Regions from separate parts of the Homo sapiens genome. Here region 1 is linked to region 2. Evidence: promoter capture Hi-C in 16 types of primary human blood cells and fetal thymus (Javierre and others, 2016). All regions are on one chromosome and are shown on one strand. The core of a region is centred on a gene start or on the middle of the fragment in contact, and the rest is flanking DNA. Distances in the headings are between cores, read along the strand shown. Region 1 has its middle 120 kb from the start of UNC5D. Region 2 holds the start of KCNU1 (potassium calcium-activated channel subfamily U member 1).

The links. The method cuts DNA at HindIII sites, captures the fragments that hold promoters and counts their contacts. A CHiCAGO score of 5 or more calls a contact.
Region 1: a contact is called between a fragment that was not itself captured here and the fragment with the promoter of KCNU1 in region 2, in 1 of 17 cell types (M2 macrophages). The highest score is 7.9, in M2 macrophages.

The regions. Positions count from the first base shown.
Region 1 is chr8:35,116,669-35,123,299 of GRCh38, reverse strand. No RefSeq gene overlaps it. Among named protein-coding and RNA genes, the nearest start is that of UNC5D, 120 kb to the left of the region's middle. The HindIII fragment of the contact is 3,748 bases long and covers 1,296-5,043 here.
Region 2 is chr8:36,778,893-36,786,157 of GRCh38, reverse strand. It overlaps KCNU1 (potassium calcium-activated channel subfamily U member 1), which reads right to left and starts at 1,784. Exons shown (of 27, transcript NM_001031836.3): 1 at 1,553-1,784. The coding sequence starts at 1,747. The HindIII fragment of the contact is 1,918 bases long and covers 1,474-3,391 here.

The DNA.
Region 1 (6,631 bases), core at 1,920-4,419, 1.7 Mb after region 2:
TTCCTCCCCTTTCACTCCTTTGTTCCTTCCTTCTCCAGATACTCCCCTTTGGCAATGCATACTTATCTAATTATGTTCTTGCTTAAGAAATTCTGGAGGCTAATCTTGAAACAAATCACGCACGGAGCCCTGACTGCTGAATCCACTTGCTTAGGGAGAGTCACAATTAGTCCATCACCATGGGGTAGAAGTCAAGATAATGCCAACCAGACTTCCAGATGGGTAATTATCCAAGATAGCCAACAGAACTAAGTCACACAGCCCCGGCACCCTGCACCACTCCTGCATGTCTCCCAAACCAAGTTTCCCTTTAAAAAACCTATGATAAATTTTTAAATTTGAGGTGGTTCTTTAGAACACTAGCTCACCACCTTCTTGGTTTGCTAACTTTCCTATTAAACTTGAGTTTCCTCCTACCAACCCTTGTTTCTCATGTTTGGCTTTTGAGTGGTGAGTAGCTGAAATTGGTTCTGGTTACAACTGGAGTTGAGTTATTATCTTTTGAAAGTTGTCTGTCTTTGTAGGTTCTTGCTTTCCTGGTCCTTTGATTAAAGGCAGTGCAGGCTCTTTTGGGCTCTTTTTCTCTGCACTTGTTAGTGTTTCTTGGTTGCTAGCTACTTCATTTCTAAGTGAAGGATATAAGCAGCAAAAAAGACGACTCAGGGAAGTCACTACCGTGCTGTTCCTTATGTGCTGAGGGCTTTAGCACATTTTCTTCTTCTCTCCGTCTTTCAGAATTTTCTTTTATTTATTTTATATATAACATCCACAGTTCTTAGTTATAAATAGTGGTAAAAATAGAGAGAAAACGCTTCATCTTCTCAGAAATGTTATCTTCTATACTGATTCTTAATATGTTTGGATTTATGTCTTCCATCTTATTTGTGCTTTTTTTTTTTTAACCTGCTTTTTGGTGCTCCATGTTTCCCCTTTTCTCTATCCTTTAGCGTTTTCTTCTTTTTCTTACTTACTGTCACTGATTTAGTGTTATATATTCTCTCCGTAATAATTTAGTAAATATTGTTATTTCTGTTGGTTTAGTAACCCTTAAGTTTTTAACATGTATGCTTGACTTTTCAGATTAAACAATTTATATTGTTCCCTCTTCCAGAAAGACACAAAGATCTTAGAGTTTTAAAACAATTTTTAATAGCTCTCTCTTTCACTTAGAATAGATTATTTCCTTATGTGTTTTATAATTTTGGTTTATGAAATGATTTGTTGTTGAGATTGTCAAGGCTGTTTAGGTGGCTTCATTAGAGATGCTTGTGAGGTTTTGTATTTTATACTAAGCTTCCCAGAGTTGTCATTGGTCAAGCAGTATTTTTCATTAGCTTGGAAATAGGTGTTCTTGAGCCATTCAGGTATAAAAAATTTAAATCCCCAATGCATTTTTTATAAATTCTTAGTGAGGGGTGCTTTTTTCAACATACAAGCCAAGCCAAAATAAAATAAACAAACCATAGAAGACCACAAACACAAGTGAATATAAAACCAACCAAACTTCAGTGACTCTTCCTATTGTTGTGCCTGTTTTGTTTCCCTAGTATACCCACTTGCTAAGTCTATAGGTCTACAAAGGTTCATATTTTATATGGCAATTTCAGTTTTACTTCTCAACCTTGAAAGGGTCAAGACTTGTCTCTCACCTTTTCATGCGTGTTCATATCCTTGTTCCCAAACAGCTTCAGAACTTGACATCTCCTCATGCTACTTAGGGTAGTGAGTTACCTATTGCTGGAGATGTTCAAGCGTTGGTATAAGGGGTATGTCATTAGAATGTGTGATTCCTCAAGATGCCTTTAACTCTCGGATTATCAGATTCTGCAATAGTATTACCTAGCATTTCATTTCCATTGTCCTGTTTATGTGATATCATTATTCGTAAACATGGAGTATGGGTGGTCAGACGCCATACTAGGTGTTTGATGACACAGCACATAACATGATTTGGGTACAGAGCAAAGGACACAGTGATGAAGTATTACATGCCCATAAGAAGTAGAATATGGAAAATGATCACATCTTTTCATTGGAGATTATTATAAAAAATACTTTCAAGTCTTGGGCAAATAACTGACCCTGTTCTTTTAGAGATGATGATAAATATAGATGTTCTGTTCCTATCATTGATGATCCAATAAATAGAATCCCTAGACACTTTCAAAAGTACTGTGTGACAAACAGGATGTTATAGGCCACTGTGCCTTCTAGTGATGTGTGGAAAATTTGATAAAATGCACCAAATGTTCTGAAGACTAAAAGTACCATGTACCATAACTGATGAGTGATGATCCTAATGCTATGGAATGGCCACAGGAACAAGCTGCTTCCTCCTTTCGAACACAGTAATATTACTATTTCTTTATAAAAGACTTTAAGTTGCCTCATACAAACCTGGTTCTCATAAGGCTGAAGATTTTCTAGACTCAGTGCACCATCCACAGAGTATTTAGTCCACTCCCTTCCTCTTTTAAGTTAAAGGAAGCATGTTTTCTTTGTAAGCTGTGCCAGGAAAATGTCTCATCTCATACGGATATTATTTTAGCATATTAGGAAACCTAACTTCGTCCTTTGCTCACCTTCAGATTTATGGGTGTTGGTTAACTACTTTCATGAAAGAACAACATAGGCACAAAATGAGATGGAATAGAATAATCAACATTTTAATGTTACATTTGCCAGTGATCCTACTGGTTAAATGACCATTTATTTTGTCTGTGTGGTGTTTGAAGGGTTATACAAGTAGGAGTTAATTTGGTTGATCTAGTAATGTATTGTGCCTATGTATGTAAATGCTTTTCTGTTCTGCTTGAAAATGTAAGCAGTTGGCCATTCAGTGTGACTCATCAGGCTTTTAAAATTCGGGGTGAGAAGCATTAGTAAAATTGCTGTGAAAAATGATTCAGCTTGCACAGCTGGATCACCTTCCAAAATGCTATTCTCAAGTACATTTGTTCAGTAGGAGACTGTTGTGATCTGGTGCCTAACTTATCTCCCTCCTCCTTGGATTTACAGACCCAAGGCAATACTCACTTCCCTTGGAAAAATCCTGTGTTATGCTGGGTAAAGAGCAGATCAGAGGAGATGCTGCAGATGTTCACAGCTAACAATGTCAATGCCTAATTGGCTTTAAAAATTCCAGAAGAGAGGAAGAATGCCATTAAAAATAAATTTCGGCTGGGCATGATAGCTCATGCCTACAATCCCAGCACTTTGGAAAGCCAAGGATCACTTGAGTCCAGGAATTCAAGACTAACCTGGGCAACATAGCGAGACCTCCATCTCTACAAAATATATGAGAAAATTAGCCAGGCATGGTGAGTCACACCTGTAGTCCCAGCTACTCAGGAGGCTATGGTGAGAGGATCACTTGAACTTGTGAGGTCAAGGCTGCAGTAAGTTGTGATCACACCACTGCACTCCAGCCTGAGTGAAAGAGCGAGACCTTGTCTCAAGAAAATAAAAATAAGTGCAAAAATAATAAATTTCATGTATTATAATAAAGTATGATCCACAAATTTAGCAAACCTACAAAAAATATAAAATATTTTCTTTGATTATAGATCTTCTTTACACAAGATCAGGGGTACTATAAAAAATTAGCTCTACCTCTTAATCTAAACAAGTTTCTTTCTCTTGATGCTCACTAGCTCACTTTGGTTTACTGCTCCAGTTGGTAATTTTCCAGAAAGACAGAAAACACCCACTTTTATTTTTTTAACAGGGTCTCGCTCTGTTGCCCAGGTTGGAGTGCAGTGGCATGATCTCGGCTCACTGCAACCTCTGCTTCCTGGGTTTAAGTGATTCTCCTGCCTCAGTATCCCCAAGTAGCTGGGACTACAGGATGCACCATCATGCCTGGCTGATTTTTGTATTTTTCGTAGAGATGGGATTTCACCATTTTGGCCAAGCTGGTCTCAAACTCCTGACCTCAAATGATCCACCCACCTCGACCTACCAAAGTGCTGGATTACATAGGCGTGAGCCACCGCAGCTGCCAACACCCATTTTTTTTTTTTAAGTCTAATTTTTGGATCTGAATGCATCTTCAAATAGGAAACACTGTTAGGCCAAATGGCCACATTTAAGCTCCATTCCGAGTCCCTAAAATGAAAAAGATAAAATATTTTAGAAGTACATATTGGAGGCTACATGAATTTTTTTCTGCTGCCTCATCTCAAAATAGTTCCATGTGTTGGCAAGTCCAGAGAAGAGAAACTGAAGTGTGCTCAGTTCAATCTCACATCCAGAAAATACTGAATTATGTTTGCAGACTCTAAGTTTTCTATTTTCTGGGAGACTTGTACAGAAAATGATTTAATGTTGTGTTTGAATATAGCCAAATAACACCATGGCATTTAATAATTGTTCATAAAAACAAACTTTATTGCACATTTAGGATCACTAAATTGACCAAATTCTCCATCCTTTAAGATGAGAGATTTTCAGAGCTTGATGTGAATGAACAAAACCTGTTGCCTTATAAGTTGAATCTTCACCACATTTCACATTGCCCTTCCCTAACTTTTACTGGGCCCTAAGAAAATACATAAATATAAAGAGAAGATTTAGAAAAAGTGAGAAAAAGATTTGGAGAAAAGGAGATAAAAAGTTGACAAGAAGAAAGAGAGACTGAACGCAGAAATGGGTAACAACCAGGTCCTGTAAAAAAATGACCTGAAGCAACCTGATCAGGAAATGAAACCTCCTTATCTTCAGTCAACGGCCCAACAAGCCAGCATGCTGTAAGTCAGATTTACAGGAAGCCAGATTGCTCTCTCTAGTAACAATCCAGGAAGCTGCACAGTAACTTCTGTAACAATTGACCCACGATGGCCAGGGCTTGATTAATAACTGACAGTTTTCCTACTTCTTGTCTCTACTTCCAACCTAGGGCCAACCAGAGAAAGCCAAATATGCACCCTTAACCAATGAAATAGGATGCCCTGTTTCTGATAAGCCCACCCACAGCTCTCCCATGCCAATAGCCTCCAATCAGCGCACATCTGAAGCCTACCTATCCTCACCCATCATGAAGCTTCACCACTGCTTCGTCTACTTTGAGTCGCTGCTTAAACACAAGTGACGGTGGTTGACTCCTTTGGCATAGCAAGCTCTGAAAAAAATAGACTTTGCTTTTCTCATTGGGACTTCATTTATTCCTGTGGGAGAAAAAGAGAAATTAAAAGAAAAAGCAGGCTTATAAAACAATAAAAAATGAAATTAGCATGTCTTGTCATTCCTCATATCATGATTGCCACAGACACACACTCAACCTCTCAGAAATGAGGGTTTGTAGTGAGATTACGAAGTTCAGTTTCCTTTTGTTATATCCTCTACCTAAGCTTCCTAATAATTTATATAATGAAATCTTCAGAATTCATCATTTTTTGGGGCAGGGGAGACAGGGTCCCACTGTGTTGCCCAGGTTGAAGTGCAGTGGTGCAATAGTAGCTCACTGCAGCCTACCTCCTAGGCTCAAGTGATCCTACTGCCTCAGCTCCAGAACAGCTGTGACTACAGGTACATGCCATCACATGTGGCTAATTCTTAAATGTTTTTGTAGAGTTGGGGTTTCACTATATTGCCCAGGCTAGTCTCAAACTCCTGGGCTCAAACAATCCTCCAGCCTTGGCCTCCCAAAGTGCTGGGATTACAGAAATAAGCCATCATGCCCAGCCTCATCATTCTTTTCTAAATGAATGTTTACTCAGTATCTGCACAATGCTAGGATCTAGGGCTATGATGATATGGACCCTGCCCTGAAGAAGCTTAGATTCCAATGGAGAGACCAACATTTAAATCAACAGTAAGTTGGCCAAGCATGGTGGCATGCACATGTGGTCCCAACTATTCTGGAGGCTGAGGCAGGAGGATTGTTTGAGCCCAGGAGGTCGGCTGCAGTGAGCTATAATGGAAGAAAATATTTGCAAACTATGCATTCAGCAAAGGACTAATATCTAGAATCCATAAAAACTTAATTCAACAAAGAAAAAACAACCCCATTAAAATGTGGGCAAATGACATGAACAGATATTTCTCAAAAGAAGACATGCCAGTGGCCAACAAACATACGAAAAAATGTTCGGCATCACTAATCATCAGAGACATGCAAATCAAAGCCACAATGACACACCATCTCACATCAGTCAAAATGGCTATTATTAAGTGAAAATAAAAAAGAAAAAATCAACAGATGCTGGCTAGGCTTAGGAGAAAAGGGAAAACTTATACACTGTTGGTGGGAATTTAAATTAGTTCAGTCGTTGTGGAAAGCAGCGTGGAGACTTCTCAAAGAACTTAAAATAGAACTACCATTCAACCCAGCAATCCCATTACTGAGTATGTATCTGAAATAAAGTAGATCATTCTACCAAAAAGACACATTCACTCGTATGTTTATTGAAGCACTATTTATCTCAGCAAAAACACGGAATCAATCCCGGTGCTTATACACATGGATTGGATAAACAAAATGTGGTACATGTATACCATGGAGCTGCAGCTATAAAAAAAAGAATGGACTAATGTTCTTTGCAGCAACATGGATGCAGTGAAAGGCTATTATCCTAAGCAAATAAAAGCAGGAAAAACAAAACGAAATACTGCTTATAAGCAGTATTCTCAC
Region 2 (7,265 bases), core at 535-3,034:
TAACTCTTCACAGTACACCTAGATTTCTGATTTTTTTTTTTTTTTGCATTTGTCCAACTTCTCCAAAGGCTTAGAGAAAAACAGGTCACTCTTAATTTGATGTAATAAAACAAATCATTGAAAAGTAACTCAACTTGATCAAACTCTTTCCTCAAGATTCAAAAGCAGAATGGTACAGCATTCTGGTTGCTCAGGCTCACTTCTTAACATTTTGTAACATTTGCTAAATATTTGTAATTAAAGGGTATACCTGGATCGAAGTGTAGACATAAATTACACCCAAAGTAAGAAATGAAAAATATAGGAAATTGACAAATGTACTGTCACATTTTTGTAATCACACAAAATGAACATAATGGAGAAGAAGAACATTGCCTGGAGCAGAAGACTAAGAAGATTTAAAAATCCTACAAATTCAGTTGTGCATTAACAACAACAAAACAAGGTAGAAACAAGGAGGCAGATCCATCATAGCTATTTACCCATATGTCAGTATCCCAGAATTCTTTCTCCAATTATTGTGCCACAGCTTAAAATCCATAATGTAGAAATAATCAATAGAATAAACTTGTTTAGGAACAAAATCTATAAGCTTCAGTATTGGATAATTTTCAAATATGGAAAACAAAATTCCATATTACCAATAACTTTAAAAACTTATCAATTTATGAATTATATTTTATGTAGGTTTTAGCACTAAAAGAAATGTTTTAAGCAAATTTTCAATATTATGATGCACAGGTGAAATGTGTTGTGTTATGGAAATTGCTATAATCTATCAGAGAAAGAAAGTTTGGGAAGCAAAATTGGAAACAAACTACACAGGGTATAGTAAAACTCTTCACCTTTGACCTCTGGTAATAGAACATCCATTACACAGCATTTGAGAGCTTTATTTCAAGCTCTTAAGCAATGCCTTATCTGTATAATACATCATTTATTCTCATCATCATCATTTGCCAGCTGTTATTCAACAACATCAACTCCTGCTAAGCTTGTTTGGGTATAAGAAATGTCCTTGCATCTATGCCTGGATGGCACAGGCATGTATGCATGGGCTTCTCTGTGTATGTGCAACTCAATGTGTTGTCTTCATATGGTATACAAAAGGCAATGTACACGTCAGTACATATGCATTATGCATGAACAATTTATGAAAGCAAGGTTGATGTTGATGTCTTGTTCCCTTTCACCTCCTTTCTATGACCTAGCACAATTGTCTTGTTAAAATTCGAGATAGAGGCATGGACATAATGTTTATGAACTTTTTTTCAGAACAGTGACCTCTGTTTCCAGAGCTAACATTAATCATTATCCATACAAGACATTGCTTTTTCCAGTGATGGGAGAGAGAAGAGGCTTGGCCCTGTCTCTTCAGGCCTCAGAATGTGGCCTGAGGTCTGGCTTACCACCCTTTCTGAGGCACCAGGCTATAGAAGCTGACTCTGTTAGCTTGAAAAACTGAATGAAGCTTAGATCTTTTACTAAACACAAAACTACCCCAAACTCATCTCTGACTTCACACAGAGGGATCCCTAACAAGGAAACTGACCAAGATAATTCCTGTTCCCTTGATGATTTGCCATTTTTTAACAGATCTCCAGATCAGCCTGAAGATCAACAGGATGATGAGTCCACTGAAGAAGGTCACAAAGGAAGAGAGAATGAATGCTGCTTGGATCTCAGTTGTGCAGGACATTTTTGGCAAGTCTTCCCAAGTTTCATTTCGTAGCTTAGTCTGAAACATGTTCGAGACATCAGTAGACGGAATTGCCAGGTCATTTGATGACGCCGTGGTCGCCTGGTAACAATTCCAGGAATCAGAGTTCACTGTACCACAGTGTTCCAACATTAGGCGTGATAACCAGTGAGAAGTTCCAGGAACAAGGGTCTGCCAATCCCCCGGTGCCAGCTCATGGGTTGTGAATGAATACACAACTGGAGATGGCTGGGGCCTACAATATGAATAGTCAAAAAAATCATAATTCTAGATCGGATTGTTACGACTTTCTCTATGCCTTGAAGAAATCCCATTATCTGTAGCAATGATCAGCTGGTTATCAGTTCAGTTAATGCAGTCAAATAATTTCAAATCAACTCTTTCGGAGTGAAACAACAGCCAACTATGTGTGTGAATGAGTTGGTTCTCTATCTGGGAGGATGCCACGTGCTTAGTAGGCTTGGAAGGACAGAAGAGAGAAGTACTTTAAAGTTTTTGTTTATCCTTTATACAAAGGAGCAGATATGCAGAATGAATAAGTCTAGAAGATCTAGTGTGCAGAACAAAGAACATAATTAATAAAATTATTTGTATTCAGGATTTTTGCTAAAAGAGTAGATTTTAAGGGCTCTTGTTACACGCACACAAAAGATGATTAACTCTGTGAGATGATAGATATATGAATTTGCTTGACTGTAGTCACTGCTTCACTATGCATAAGTTTATCAAAAGAGCATTTTGCGTTTGTACTTGTATGCGGAAGCTAAAACAGTGGATCTCATAAAGATAGAGAGTAGATTCATGGTTACGAGATGCCGGGAAGGGTGGCTGAGGAAAGAAGTTGGATAAAGAGAAGTTGATTAATGGGTACAAATATTTGGTTTGATAGAAGAAATAACATCTAATGTTCTATAGATCAGTGAAGTGACTATAGCTTATGATAATCTATTGTACATTTAAAAATAGCTAGAAGAGAAAAATTTGAATGTTTCTAGCACAAAGAAAATACAAATATGTAAGTTGATTGATATCCCAAGTACACAAATTATGTGAATGTATTAAATTATCACGTGACTTGAAAATATGTGTATCTGCTGTGCATCAATCCAAAGAATATCACGTTGTACTCCTTAATTACACACAATGAAAATCAAGATTATCTTGAAACAGAAAAAAAAAGGTTTTGTTTATTCTTTACATAAGAAAGGCATAGTATAGAGTGCAGGTATTGAAGAAGACAATTTAACTAGTGTGGTCATTGGTTGATTGTTATTTCAGCCCATAAATCCATTCCACTTATCTCTTCTTTATGGAACTCTCCCCTTTCTTGCTTTTATTACTGCCCTGGCAGCAAACCTTTTGGCCCAGCAGAGGTAAAGTTCAGAATGAGAGAAATTTCTTTGATTTTCCCTGATGTTTTCAAAGGTGTAAGAAATGTCATGCCTTTCAGTGTGCACAAGTGGCAGGCAAAATGTCAGAGCCCAGTGGAGGGCCTAGTTCACCCCAGTTATTACCAAGATAACCTGACACCAGGTGAAGAGGCCCAAGAGGAATCATCACGCTGTCCTTGGGAGCCCGCCATGACTCCACACTGTTTGGCAGGCTGTTTCAGAAGATAACTGTAGCATTTCCTAGGACTGCTGCCACAGTTACATTTCCTGCTTTTAAGCTTACCTATCATTTCTACAAAATCCTGTCATTGAGCTAGCTAATAACAAAGGGCGATGTTTAAAAGAACACTGGTCTAGGAGTTAGGAGCCCTGCGTTCCAGCCCAGTCCTTCTATTAAGTTACTGTGTGATTTCTAACAAGTCATTTTAATGTTCGTAGTCTTTTGATTTTATGTGGAAGATAATACCTACTTGATAGAATTATTGTGGGGATTCAAGAAGGTAGTGTGAACATATTTTGAAAAGCATAAAACTCAATATAAGATGCCATTAGCCATTTCAGTTCCTTTTTTGAATGGCATTAATTATAAAGACAGGAGGAGGAAGAAGTAAAGGAAAGGAGGGAGAGAAAGAAGGAAGGAGGGAGGCAGGGAGGGAGGTAGGGAGGGAGGTAGGGAGGGAGGAAGGAAGGAAGGAAGGAATGAACGGAGGGAGGGAGGGAGGAAGGAATGAGGGAAGGGAGGGAGGAAGGAAGGAAGGGAAGGAGGGAGGGAGAAATCACTTGTTTATCTCTTTCACATATGTGTGTGTGCGCACGCACACACACACACACGCGCGCACACACACACACACACACACTTACAGCTATGTGGACAAGATCAGACTTTCCAAGCCAAAATTCATCCACATCCTTTACTTAGTATTCTCCCTTTTATCTATCATTATCACTTTAATTTTCTTATTTTCTTCCCTTTTACTATTTACTGTTTGTTAGGATGGAGAAAAGAAACAGAGACAAGGGGAGGTCGCTCAACAGCAACACAGGTTTATTGGACAAAGACTTGCAGAAGGGGAACACCAGACAGCGCTGGAGCCCAAGCCCCGCTTACAGACTGGAGCAGTTGTAGGTCCCGACAGGAGAGGTGGGGCAGTATGGGTCGCTGCAGGGCAGGATGTGATAAAGGAAGAATTTCCTGCAGTCAGACGGTTAGGCCTGGGACCTGCCAGGATGTTTCTCATGGCCCGAGCCCCTCCAGGGGAATTTTCCACCCTAACCAGGGTGTGCAAAATGGCAGGGGTTTACAGGATGGCGCTGCTTGGGCTAACACTATTTTCAAAGTATTTCGATTCTGCTGTATTATGATGCATCCTGGGCACCTCTTCCCTTTTTGCAGATATTGCTTTATGAACACAAAAAGGATTCCATTCAATTCGAACAGGCAGGTAGTTTGTCCCTCTAATATGCTGTTATCACGATAATAATATTACTGTCTGCAAATGAGTAGAAAAATGTGCAGGTGGTTTCAAAATCAGTCTCTTCAAACCCATCTTGAACCTACAGTGACGAACAGTCCCTGTTCAGAACTGTCCCAGGTTCAAAACTGAAAGTCCAGTGACTGGAGAAACCGCCTAGTCCTGGCAAACCACAGAGACTGGTCACCTCCCATCCCACGACACATCATCTATGCTGCGCTCCAATCATACTGCCTCCTCTTAGCTATGAGGACATGCAAACCTTTTCCTGGTCCAGGCCCTTATAGCACAATGCCTCTGTTCCCTCTGCCCAGAGCACTCACTTCAATAGTGGCTGCTATTTTGTTGTCCTTCAGTTCTCCCTTGGTCTCTCTTACGGCTTTCTGACCCTTTCTTTTATAGCACTTCATGGTACTCAAGATTTGTTGTTATGTGATTTACTTGTTGCCTGGTTTATTTTCTATCTCCTTTCACAAGACTATAAGCTCCACAAGCACGGGATATCATTTCCGCTTTACTCATCACCGATTACTCTGTGTCTAGTATTGTACCTGGCACATACCTGGGAATGTGTAGACTTCGTAAATATTTGGCGATTGAATGAATACATTGCTGATCCTCAAAAATATTTGTTAGGTGAATGAAATACTGAATCTGCATGAACCTTAACCTAAGTTATCCAGATTTCTCTGCTCCATATTCTCCATCTTTGACGGCAAACTGTTCTTGTGATGAAAGCATCATCCATAGTGTGTAATGCATGGTTCATAGTGTGTGTGCATGTGTGTAAGTGTGTGTGTGTGTGTGTGTGTGTGTGTGTGTGTAGTGAAAAGGGCACCTGATTTGGATCAAGTGTCAAAGTGTCACCATCTTTGCAAATTTAAATTTGGTAATTATGGCCAGATGCGGTGGCTCACGTCTGTAATCCCAGCACTTTGGGAGGCCGAGGCAGGCAGATCACCTGAGGTCAGGAGTTTGAGACCAGCCTGGCCAACATGGTGAAACCCCCCTCCCTAATAAAAATACAAAAAAATTAGCCAGGTGGGGTGGTGGGTGCCTGTAATCCCAGCTACTCGGGAGGCTGAGGCAGGAGAAGCGCTTGAACCCGGGAGGTGGAGGTTGCAGTGAGCCGAGATCATGCCGCTGCACTCCAGCCTGGGTGACAGAGTGAGACTCCGTCTTAAAAAAAAAATGGTAATTATTCTCGGTTAGTGAGTTATTTGGTGATGGGTGGACATGTGACTAGGCAAAGCCCTTCGTAGCTTGGTAGCAGTTCAGTGTTCAGAACTTGGAAGGTAGGGAACTTTGAAGCAATGATACCCTTCACAGTAATTAAGATAGTACTCTCCTTGTACTTGATGGTTTGATAAGGATAAAAAACAGTAACTATTTTTTTGACTACCAGCTGCAAGCTAGAATCTTCGTCGTGTGTGTGTGTGTGTGTATGTATGTGTTTAACAATTACCTTATACCAAGGACTGGGAGCACCAGGGACACCAAAACAAATCTAGTTCATTCCCTCATAGAAGAGAGTCAACTGAGGAAGACATTTACAATAACAAACTGCAAAAAGTGTTTAGAAAATAAACTAATCTGGTGAGGATCGAGGGGGTCAGGAAAGCTACCTCAAATACGTCATGTTTGAAGCTGAGGTCTGTAGAATGAGAAGCTTCCCAGGCCAGGACAACAGAAGGGGTTAAGGAGGCTGGGGTAGAACATGATCAGGCTGAGAAGATATGTGGAAAGGAGAATGCACTTTCTTTCTTTCTTTTTTTTTTTTTTTGAGACAGAGTCTCGCTCTGTTGCCCAGGGTGGAGTGCAGTTGCGCGATCTCGGCTCACTGCAAACTCCGCCTCCCCGGTTCACGCCATTCTCCTGCCTCAGCCTCCCGAGTAGTTGGGACTACAGGCGCCCGCCACCACTCCTGTATTTTTAGTAGAGATGGGGTTTCACCGTGTTAGCCAGGATGTTCTCGATCACCTGACCTCGTGATCCGCCCGCCTCGGCCTCCCAAAGTGCTGAAGTGCATTAATCATCGGCCAGATGGAACACAGTGACCCAAAAGAAGGCTGGGCGTGTATAAAGGTGTTGCAGGACTTTTCCTTAGTTCGGCTAAAGACGGGGTCCTTGTCCGTCCCATGGCCGTGAAAATTTAGGCTCATAGACGGTTTGAATGGTGAGTAGGAGAGAGTAGTATTGATTGAAGAGGAAGAAAAGAGGCTCGAATCAGGGACTCTCGCAAGGCGAGCCCCTGCTAGAGCGCTTCCCGCCTGCAGCTTGAATCCCGGGTTCCACACAGGAAGAGGAGGGACCAGGCTCCTCCCTGCTCCAAAGGGCACGAACTTCTGTGTCTCCACCCCAGTGCGCATTTCTCCTAGTGCGCAGGCTCGTTGGAGGTTTTCCGGGGACCCTTTCCAACCTGGCTGTCTCAAAGGGAACCAGATTATGCAAGGCTTTGTGTTCCAGCTTAGGCTAAACCAAGAACAACTTTATCCTAAGGTCAAGAGGAAATATTTGATAGGTTCTAAAGAAGGGAGGTAAGTCATTGCATTTCGATTGTAAAAGCATCACACTGGTTTTCATGCAGAGACTGCTGGTCTCGATAGTGACAGGACGCTAGTCCTGATGGGATGGGGCTGGTGGGAAGAGACACAAGTGGGCAGGTGTGAGTGATGTCTGGGG